4 separate regions of the Homo sapiens genome follow, and regions 1, 2 and 3 are each linked to region 4. Evidence: promoter capture Hi-C in human tissues and cell types (Jung and others, 2019). All regions are on one chromosome and are shown on one strand. The core of a region is centred on a gene start or on the middle of the fragment in contact, and the rest is flanking DNA. Distances in the headings are between cores, read along the strand shown.

Region 1 (2,700 bases), core at 40-2,539, 210 kb before region 4:
TCCAATTGTGGAAAGAATGAAACACCCAGAAGCGAGGATTCCGTTATCCCCTTTATAAACCAGAAGGAGAGATCTGACTGACCCTGGTCAGGTCAGTAACATCTCAGCTAAAGAGGGCCTTAAGACACCAACCAGGTGAGCCTCTCTGGTGAGAAGGTGAGAATGAGAGCTCCAGGAGAGGGCCCAGCCTGCAGATTCTTCCCCGGAGTCACTGTGCACCATGTTGTTCTTCTTAGTCTCCCCAGTCTCTCAGCTGCAGTGGGGACTGTTCCATTAACAAATTCTGCATTTTAATTGGGATTCTTTTATTTAGGAAAGTCCTTTGAAGACCAAGCCAATTCTGTTTCCTTCTTGTGATATGGTTAAGTGTGTGTCCTTCCTACCTTCTCCCCTATTCCATTCTGCATGCTAATGGGAGCTGGAACTGATGGGGCACCTGGGTTTTTGACCATGTCTCCTTGGCTTGGAGAGATGCCATTTTCTCTAAGGCTAGAAGTTGTATGGTATGAGGACACGTTAAGTATTGGTGTCTGATTTCAGCAGTAGAGGTAGGGTGGGCAGTGCGTCTTAGTCATAAACCTGGCATACAGGAAAATAGGGACACAGCAGTCAGAAGGCAGGTTTCATCAGGGTACTCTGCCCAAACTGTAGTATCTAACATTAGCCCTCCATCCCTGTGCCATCCCAGTCAGCCTTTCTAGGGAGAATCTTAATACTTTCTTATCAGAGCAAATGTCTCCCAGAGATAAGAACTTCTGCCGTATCTGTTTTAAAGCATAGAGATGTTGTGGGAAGAAAAATAAAAATTCGTCAAAGAACATTACAACAGTTGCCATTACCAGAAAAATCTGTGGGTGTCAAAAATATTTCCAAGTTGAATATCTATTATTACAAGCTTGTGTTTAAAAAAAAAAAAAACTCCAGGCAGCGGAAGATGTGGGAGAGGCTCGTAAAATCAGTTGTGATGAGATGATCCTATCAGATCTACCCCTGCTAAAGACGTAGCACTTAATTTTAAAGAAATTCCATTTTTGAAAATCTTAAAATTTGGGAAATAAAAAGTCTGACAGAGTATTCCACACTGTAAAGTGGACTCGGGCGTGGAACCCATAGAGTAGCTGAGGACACCTGAGGCAAGAGCGTGAGAGACTTCAGGAGCCGCCATGAAGAGCTCCCACAAGCCTCCGTTTCCTCATCTGCAAAATGAGATGAGGAGTTTGGAGTCAAAAATTCTGTGATTTCCCTGGTGCTTTAATCTGTTATGTGCCTGACATTCTTTGGCAGAATGAATTTCCAGAAAAGCTCTTAATCTCACGGTTATTAAAATATACATTATTTATATATTTAATATATATAAATTAGAGCCTACTATAATTTATTTGGGGACTGACTACACAAGAGTTCCTTTTATACGAGAGTGTCTTACAATGGATCATTTCCGTATTTCAGTCACCAAATTCTATACTCCACCAGTCCAAAATGAGTCCAGTAGAACTAAATTCATGTCTGTCCTGAATACTCTTAGAGCAAGACTTGGTCAGCAATAAGAAAGAATGCACAAGTCTGTCTCAGAACTTCTGAAATGCTACCATCATTCAGATCCATTAGAAGTGCATTGAAATTGTATTTTGATAATGTAGGTTATAAAGAAAAAGGATTAGCACCTTTCATGGTTCAAGATGTGGCATTATGAATGGAGAGCTGGAGAAGACTTGTATCCCTCCTGTCTGACGTTTCACATGGGAGCGTTAGCAAGCTGACTTTGAACCTCTGGCACAAACCGTTTCTCACTGATGCCCCAAGGGGTGGCTTTGGCTAGTTAAAGTGCCTCATTTTGGAGTCAGATTTAGGTTTAGATTCTGGTTTAGATGCTTCATGCTGCCACATCACCTTGGCCCAATCATCTACCTTCCTGAGCCTGGGTTTTCTCACTGTAAAAATAAGGATAAAGATAATTCCAATATACGATCTTTTTTTTTTTTTTTGGTGAGAATTAAGTCATTGTATGTAGAAGTGCCTAACAAAATACTTGGTACACAGTAGGCACTCTTAAAAATCTACTACTGTTGGCACAAAGTGTGAATGTCCGTAATGCCACTGAATTGTACACTTAAAATTGGATAAAAGGGTAAGTTTTGTGTTACATATATTTTACCACACATACAGAGAAAAGTATTGCTGGGCCTGGCCATCATCTCTCAATGCCTGAAAGGTACCACCCACATCTTCAACACTGTGTGACCTGAGGGCAGCTTAACCAAATTGACCTAGAGTCACGGAATGTTGTCACACAGGTCTAATCTGACCACCCCCCGGCAAAACTGTGATGCTCCAACCCATGAGCCTGGGACCACAGTCTTTATACTTGTTCCACTTCTCCAAAGCTTCTTTTCAACTTCCTGAGTTGTTTTAGCAGCAAAGGAGATGGTGGTGAATTTAGACCAGAACCCTAATGGTCTGATAACACCTACACAGTGGTGTCCAGTGTTCTTCCCAAGGTGGATCCCGTGCCTCGGGTGTCCAGAGGACAGAACAAGCTCCACCTTGATGTCGTGTTGCCCTGGTTTCTTTTTCACCACTGGGCAATGTGTGCTTGGTCTATAACTCTCTCAGTGCTCAGCCACAGAAATGCCAGTGCTGTTTGGCTTTGATTTTTACCCAGGAAAAAGACAACTTTTCAGAACTGGTAGCCATCTTTCC
Region 2 (2,700 bases), core at 98-2,597, 140 kb after region 4:
TTGAATGAAACTATAGAACACAAACTATCATTTACTAACATGACTTAATCCTGTGATGACTCAGAAGGCCCTCCAGGATCACACATTTCTTCAAGGTTGTTATTATGTGTGTTATCTATGGGGATGTTTAAACACAGACCAAGTGGTTGAAAGGGGAATTCTGCAGTGCCTGGAAGATAGGACTTGATAACTACCAGCTCATTCCAATTCTGTGTGTATGTATTGAAGAGTCAAATATAGAAATGATCTCATTTATTATCACCTGAATGAAACATGTTTATGAAACCAAGAGATTACAAGTGAAAACTGTCAAATAGCCTCTGTTAATAAGCCTTAACCAGAATTCATGGTCCTTGACCATGATAAGTCAATTAATCTGAAAAGGTAGGATTCCATTAGTGCTGTGAGTGAATTATTACCATTATTTAATTTTATTAAAACCTGCTCATTAGATTGTAATTTACTAATTAATGCAAACATATTTGTCACTATGTGGCTAATATATGCCAAGCCTGTGTTAGTCAGTCATTAGGGATACAATGTAAATATAATTCATGCCCTCAAGAAATTCAAATAATTTCTCTGTAAAAACACTTCATTGTGCAGATCATTTTTACAGCACTTTAAATGTCAATGTGGGAAATTAGCCTGGGTGTGATATGACCCTCTAACCTAGCCTATAATTCATTCAAAATACAGAACAATACAAAGCAAAAAATGCCAGTTAGTTTAATTACTTGACATTAGTCTTTTTCTCAAAAACACAATATACAGAATGTTCATTCAGAATTCTGGGTAAATATGCTTCTGCACAGATGATTTTAATTTCAGGTTAGTACAACATCTGCCAGTCCCCCAGAGCTTGAGGGTGAAGCAGCTTCCCCAGGTGTGGAGGAGAGAGAGCCATCACAGCGCCCCACCCTCTTCTCTGATCTTTCTGTGGATCTGACAGTGACAGAGGCGGCAGCAGGGAGCCCTGCCCTGGGACTCAGGAGAAGCCTGGGAGCAGGGACGGGTGTTCTCAGTCCAGTCTGTCAGGAATTCTGGGAATGGATGCTGCCGTCTTTCCTCACAGCTTCCTGTAAACATGCTGATTTTCAACTTGATAGTAGGACTTTGCTATTTAGTGTTTTCATATCTAAAACTAAGGGGTTAGGTTTCGAGGGGTGGCTTAGCCTCTAATCTCAGCACTTTGTGAGCCCGAGGCAGGTAGATCACTTCAGGCAAGGAGTCTGAGACCAGCCGAGGCAACATGGTGAAACCCCATCTCTACCAAAAAAATATAAAAATTAGCTGGGCGTGGTGGTGCGGGCCTGTGGTCCCAGCTGAGGTGGAAGGATACCTTGAGCCGAGGTGAGAGGATACCTTGAGCCGACGTGAGAGGATACCTTGAGCCCAGGTGAGAGGATACCTTGAGCCGAGGTGAGAGGATACCTTGAGCCTGGGAGGTAGAGGTTGCAGTGAGCCAAGATCATGCCACTGCACTCCAAGCTGGGTGACAGAGAGAGACCCTGTCTCAAAATAAATAAATTTAAAAAAAATAAAAATAAAAATAAGGGCCGAGTGCGGTGGCTCTCACGCCTGTAATACCAGCACTTTGGGAGGCCAAGGCGGGTGGATCACCTGAAGTCAGGAGTTCAAGACCAGCCTGGCCAATATGGTGAAACCCATCTCTACTAAAAATACAAAAAATTAGCCAGGTGTGGTGGCGGGCGCCTGTAGTCCCAGCTACTCGGGAGGCTCAGGCAGGAGAATCGCCGGAACCCAGGAGGCAGAGGCTGCAGTGAGCCGAGATGGCGCCACTGCACTCCAGCCTGGGCGATAGAGTGAGACTCTGTCTCAAAAAAACAAAAACAAAAAACGAACAAACAAGCAAAAAAAAGGGTTTGGATTAAATGAGTTTCCTAACATACAGTCTGAGGACACAAGCCCCATAAGATGCGCCATCAGAATGGAGTGTGGGAAAAGCCGTGTGCCACACCTTGCGGTGGAGACTCACAGCTGCGCCTCTGCATACTGACGTCAGAGAAGCCGCACCATCTAAACAACTGATAGCAGCATTTCTCAAAAAGCTTAGCCCTGAAATCTTTTCTTCTTGTATCACCTGCTAGCATCTGCTGACTCACTTAGCGTTCTGAGGTACACATTTTGAGAAACCCTGGAATACATCTCTATAGTCATTGGATTTTTGTTTTGTTTTTTCTCGAGATGGAGTTTCGCCCTGTCACCAGGCTGGAGTGCAGTGGCGCAATCTCGGCTCACTGCAACCTCTGCCTCTGGGTTCAAGCAATTCTGCTGCCTCAGCCTCCTGACTAGCTGGGATTACAGGCACCCGCCACCACGCCCGGCTAATTTTTGTATTTTTAGTAGAGACGGGGTTTCTCCCCGTTGGCCAGGCTGGTGTCGAACTCCTGACCTCGTGATCTGCCCACCTCAGCCTCCCGAAGTGCTGGGATTACAGGTGTGAGCCACCGCACCCGGCCTAGACATTGGTTTTTATGGCCTCTTTTTTTGAGACGGAGTCTCGCTCTGTTGCCAGGCTGGAGTGCTGTGGCGTGATATCAGCTCACTGCAACTTCCAACTCCCTGGTTCAAGCGATTCTCCTGCCTCAGCCTCCCGAGTAGCCGGGATTACAGGCACGCACCATCACGCCCAGCTAATTTTTGTATTTTTAGTAGAGACGGAGTTTCACCATGTTG
Region 3 (2,700 bases), core at 177-2,676, 220 kb after region 4:
TTCTATTTTTTAGAATGACAGCAATTCAGCAGGAGCAGGTGGACCAGTGAAAATAACAGAAAACCGATCAAAGAAGACCAGTTTCTTTCGTTGCTCGCTACTTTGATGAACTCTTTCTGAGAGACTGCAGCACACCTAGAGGGCCCTTTCCTGCTTCTCTGAAAGCACAGGTCACCCAGCCTCAGAATCACACCTCCCGGCTGCTGCTGAGAGCACCACTGAACTTAGACCTCTCAACACAGTATGCCAAGTGGATTCCAGCCTCATGGCCTAGCAAAAGAACAGACTCCCTTTTTCAAACATGGAAGCAATGAAGTGGAGACACATGCAGGACCTAACTCGTTTTTTCCTTGTTTTATTACCTGTTGCAGAAGCGGTTATCTTTCTTTTTTACTTTGCACATCAGTGTTAGCCTTTCCCTATTTCAGCACAATCTTAGACTCATATTTGCACACTTTTGTGTCGTGAAGTTCTAGACAAATTTGTACATGTGGCAATGTTAAAAGAGCATTTACAGCAGAGGTTAATATACTAAAATTAAAGGGTATTTGGTCTGGTTCATATGGTCAAATATTACTGCCTTGGTAGCATTTATTTAAGGGCTTTTTCTTAAATAAGAATCATTAAAGTCATTAAAAAAATTTACTGAAATGCCCATCTTGTCATCAAAGGCCACAATTTCTTTATTTCTTCAGATTAAGAGCTTTGCCTCATCCCCGACCTGTTTTCCAGAGTCTGGGTAGCTGAATGAATCACTTTAAAATGATTACCTCTGCCTAATCTATAGAAACTGCATTTGGAAATCACCATAATCTCATTTTTCCCTGGGGTTTGTATTTGCTATTCTTTCCCATGTTTGACTTAAGTGTAATCACTCTTAAGTAATATTTGAACATTATTATCTGTTTCTATTTGTGAACTTCTTGAGCTGAAATTTTACGTGGGCTGAGAGATATACCATTTAGGGTTTTAGTGCAGCATCTAACTGTGATTCTGTCAATAAGGATATGTAATATATTTTTTCTTAGGTTCACTCCTTAGCTGGCTGGTTTAGTTGTAATACCAAATTCCTACCATAATCCCTGTCTACAAAAGTTAGGTTTAGATTTTAGTTTGCGGAAACCTTCCCTATATAGAGACAGATTAACTTGTTGATATAAATTTAATAGAGCTAGCTCTTGGTAATGGTGAAAATAATGAGTTTTGGTTGGTTTTATTTGGCAGATGTTTTTAGAAATAAAAGTACTTAGACCTAGTGCAGCCTCTAGGAAAAGTCTTGCCTTTTCATTAGAGAAAACAGGACCAAGGTTTCAGTTTTCAAACAGCTGTTGTTGATTGTGTAGAACCCAGTTCCATCTGTTTTGGTTCATTGTTACAGAACTTAGTCCAGTCATTTGGGCTAAAGCCAACCAAAAGCTTAGTTGCCTTTCTCAACAAACACTGGTACTGGTATACTTTTGTAGATGAAACCATCACAAGGTATTTAGTGTTAACTTGTGTGCCAAATTCAGATCACTATGTCGTTGTTGCTCTAGCCTTCAGTGTCATAACACAGGGGGGATAAAACAGAGGGGATGAGGGAAATGAATTCTGTTAATAATTATTCTTCCTGGTATGCCTGTTTTGCTTCACAAAGGCTACTATCATGCTGGATAGATAAGAACAGGAGATGGCAGTGGAAAGGGATTGCTTGTTACCACAGAGAATTCTCTTCAAATTAAGATATGTCATTAGAATGCTTGGACCAGTCAATCTTTTGTACTTATTTGAAAATATAGGAACAATTTAGCAGCTGCAAATATGCCCAAGCTATTTTTAATAGATATACTAAACTTATTGTTGACAAATTTCAGCCTCCTTAATTTTTTTTTTTTTGGTAATTACCTATAGGCTTAAAAGTCATTCGTTGCTGTTCTAGTATAATTAGTAGTTCCGTGATTGAAAGTTTATTGTAATTCTACTATCTTCAAATTAGATACATTTTCAAAAGGAAAAGATAATTTTTTAGAAACATCTTAATATTCACTATTTCCTGAAAAAATCCAAGCAGTTAACGCTTTCTGGATGGTAACAAAGTACCTTCTAAAAGATAAGTGCTATGACACCATGTATGAATGTAATTCTCTTAGTAATTTACCTCTGACTATTTGGTGTCTTAACGCTTTGGTTTATATAATCTCAGGGGTTGTCTGCAAACCAAAACTGACATATTCTGTGGTTAGCTTTTATTACTTTTTTTTTTAACAGAATGCTTTGCTTTGGTTATATTTCTTCTTTCTTCTTTTGTCTTATATGGATTAATAACTAGTCTCCATGAACTTCACTTGAAAGAGCCTGTAAAAGTTAGATGAGTCTAAAAGTGCTCTTTGAAGTAGCAGCAAATTGGGAGTATATGCTCTGTTATATAGAAATAAATTGTCCTTGCTATTTTCTTACATTTAGCTTTGCTAGATTGTATATACATTGAGCTAAGACCTTAGGAAATTCACTTTCTGCATGATAAAATGACCCAATAAATATTCCACTTTGCTTAATAATGTACATACAGTGCATTATTTTTTCTATTTGTAGATGAATTTAATGACAGATAATTGTCTGTTCCCCGCTGAAACTGAAGAAATCTAGTTTTTTTGTGAACATTTTTGTGGTCTTATGGATAAGGTACATGAAGATTTTTGCAGCAGTATTAGTGGTTCAGTG
Region 4 (2,700 bases), core at 201-2,700:
ATTTGATCATTCTCTGAAGGACTTACAAGTTGTTTGGCCTGCCTAATCTGCTCAGATACCGTCCGGGGAATATTTGGTAACCATGCAGTACAGACTGTGAATTATTCTGTGGGGACTATTAACAAGACCCTCACCAACCCTGCCTCAGCTGATCTCAGGGCTTGGGGGCAGCCCCCTCTCCTCCCCTCCCACTGAAGCTCTGAAAAAAAGCAGCCTTTCCCCCTTGGGAGATGGGAGGAGTAGTTAAAAATAAGAAGTGTTGGGGGAAATCCTCCTCCTTCCAAGCACAGCTCACACGGCAGAGCCTCCTCAGAGTTGCGGCTGCGGATGCAATGACTTAGCCAGGTTAACGCCGATCCCATGTTTTCCGAAACCTGGCACCTAAGCATCTAACATGGAAGGCCGACTCCCTAAAATCAGTGCAAGAAAAATGATAACAAGTTATATCTGGAGGGACCTCGGGGATTATCTACCCGCTGGATTTAAAGTTGAGGAAGCCGCGGGCAGCAAACAAGGTCTCACAGTTGCTGGTGGCAGAGTAGAGACCACAGACCAAATTGCCTGAGTCTAAACTCAATGTTCTTTCCCCTTAGACTGCCACCCGCACACACACGCACACATGCACACCTTTTTGGAGGCACTGCACAGCAAGCACAGAAGTACGCCACTGAGTCCTGTGTCCCTAAAGTATTTGACTGTCCCTCCGCTGGGGGAAAGGGCAGGCAGAAAACAAGACTCCGTGTGCTGTCGCTGTGCCGCCCCCTGCCTCTCTGACCCGCGCCCGCAGAGAAAGTCTCAAGAGCCGCCCCAGGCTTTCTCCCACGTTCTCCCTTTCTCTGCTGCAGTTGAGTTTCCAGAGCGTGAGCGCGCAGGATGACACCTGGCTGGCTGAGAGCTGCCGGGGAGGCGCTGGCGGGTGCCGAGAGCGCACTGACCCTGACGCGGGGTGCAGCACGGCTGGGAAGCCCCCGGGCCTTTGGCTAAGCGCGCCGGGGGACGGCACAGGGGGGCGACGCGCATCCACCACCTGGTCCGCGCTCTCCCGGCCTCCGGCAGCTCAGGGCGGGCTCGGTTGGGGACCCTAATGGCTGGGTGCCGGCCCTGGGAGAAGGGCACGCGGAGGGCGGAGGGTTGCGCCTCGGCCCCGGCTCGGCCCCAACGCCCTCTCCCTGGCGCGCAGGTTTAGAAACAGGGCGGCCTCTCCGGCCGCCGCCTCGGCGGCTCGGGTCCCCATATATAGTCATATCCACCGTCAACTGGGAGGCCGGCGGCCGGCAGCGAATGGGCGAGCGGCCCCCGCGGGAGGAGCGGGGAGGGGGCACGGGGCGGAGGGAGGAGAGGAGGAAGGGGGGCAGGAGAAAAAAGCTTTTCCAAAAAAGTATTGGCTGTCTTGAGGAATGCGGTCGCCCCCTTGGGAAAGTACATATCTGGGAGAAGCAGGCGGCTCCGCGCTCGCACTCCCGCTCCTCCGCCCGACCGCGCGCTCGCCCCGCCGCTCCTGCTGCAGCCCCAGGGCCCCTCGCCGCCGCCACCATGGACGCCATCAAGAAGAAGATGCAGATGCTGAAGCTCGACAAGGAGAACGCCTTGGATCGAGCTGAGCAGGCGGAGGCCGACAAGAAGGCGGCGGAAGACAGGAGCAAGCAGGTCTGCGCCTCCCCGGCCCTGCGCCCGCGCCCAGAGCGCCGGGACTCGAGCCTGGCACCCCCGGCTGGATCCCCACCCCGAGGACTCGGGGAGCCACCACCCTACCCCCACCACCACCCAGGGCGGCCAGGGCGCGCGTCTGGAAAGAAGGAAGGGAAACGCAAGAGCCAGGCTTAGTCTAACTTAGTCTGGTCTGAGGACGCTTATTTCCCTTCTCTGGTTCCCATGGCCCGCGAAATCAAGTCCTAGAGGCGCTTTATTCTCAGGACTGGGAATCAGTTTGGGGGAGGGAGGAGGACACCCGGTTCCTGGGGACGTTTGAAGGAAGGGCGAGGGATGGAGAAAGGGGGTCGAGTAACTCAAGTGTTAGAAGTTCGTTGACTTTTGACTGGGGAGAAAGGAACCTTAAACTTGGGGAGGAGAAGGGAGTCCTGGAGTTGTTACCTAAGAACAAAGATGGGGCGGAATGGAGGCTACAGCCCGAAAGCCAGGCCAGCAGTGGCGTTCTTCTGTGTCCCCAAGTAGTGGACTTGAGCCCGCTGAGACCTCGGCAGGAGTCTCGTCCCAGGGCAGGTGGGTGTGCGGGGTGAGCCGCGGAGCGGTTCCAGCTCGGGTAAAGAGGAAGTTACCTCGGGTCCTTTGCACTCCAACTCGGCGGCGCCCCGAGCCCGAGGGGCCCCAGCCAACCCGACGCCCGTGTGTTGTGTGTGTCTAACACCCGGTCCGTGCCGGCCGCCCGCGCCCGCCCGCCGCTGCCCCCAGCTCGAGGAGGACATCGCGGCCAAGGAGAAGTTGCTGCGGGTGTCGGAGGACGAGCGGGACCGGGTGCTGGAGGAGCTGCACAAGGCGGAGGACAGCCTCCTGGCCGCCGAAGAGGCCGCCGCCAAGGTACCCGGGGCGCGCGGCACGGCGTGGCGCACGAATGGCTAACTCTTTCTCTTTCTCTCTCTCCCTCCCTGTCTTTCCCTCTGTCTCTCCCGCTGTCCCTGTCCTTCTGGTTCTGTGCACCCACACCCCTCCCCTTCGGGATCACGCTGCCTGCTGCACCCCCCT

Evidence for each region. The method cuts DNA at HindIII sites, captures the fragments that hold promoters and counts their contacts. A contact is called where the count stands out against the background at its distance.
Region 1: a contact is called between a fragment that was not itself captured here and the fragment with the promoter of TPM1 in region 4, in 5 of the 25 tissues and cell types used here (bladder, dorsolateral prefrontal cortex, heart right ventricle and 2 more).
Region 2: a fragment that was not itself captured here is called in contact with the fragment with the promoter of TPM1 in region 4 in 1 of the 25 tissues and cell types used here (lymphoblastoid cells).
Region 3: a contact is called between a fragment that was not itself captured here and the fragment with the promoter of TPM1 in region 4, in 1 of the 25 tissues and cell types used here (dorsolateral prefrontal cortex).

Annotation. Positions count from the first base shown.
Region 1 is chr15:62,830,139-62,832,838 of GRCh38, forward strand. All of the region lies in intron 54 of TLN2 (talin 2), which reads left to right. LOC105370854 (a long non-coding RNA gene) reads right to left here. Exons shown (of 7, transcript XR_007064671.1): 7 at 1-2,700. Among named protein-coding and RNA genes, the nearest start is that of MIR190A, 7.5 kb to the left of the region's middle. The HindIII fragment of the contact is 3,371 bases long and covers 1-2,700 here.
Region 2 is chr15:63,177,237-63,179,936 of GRCh38, forward strand. LOC101928972 (a long non-coding RNA gene) reads right to left here. Exons shown (of 4, transcript XR_932355.4): 4 at 831-1,079. Among named protein-coding and RNA genes, the nearest start is that of RAB8B, 11 kb to the right of the region's middle. The HindIII fragment of the contact is 8,403 bases long and covers 1-2,700 here.
Region 3 is chr15:63,263,514-63,266,213 of GRCh38, forward strand. RAB8B (RAB8B, member RAS oncogene family) reads left to right here. Exons shown (of 8, transcript NM_016530.3): 8 at 14-2,700. The coding sequence ends at 106. Among named protein-coding and RNA genes, the nearest start is that of APH1B, 13 kb to the right of the region's middle. The HindIII fragment of the contact is 4,184 bases long and covers 1-2,700 here.
Region 4 is chr15:63,041,297-63,043,996 of GRCh38, forward strand. It overlaps TPM1 (tropomyosin 1), which reads left to right and starts at 1,451. Exons shown (of 10, transcript NM_001018005.2): 1 at 1,451-1,647. The coding sequence starts at 1,534. RefSeq lists enhancers at 395-1,309, 2,223-2,700. The HindIII fragment of the contact is 3,976 bases long and covers 1-2,513 here.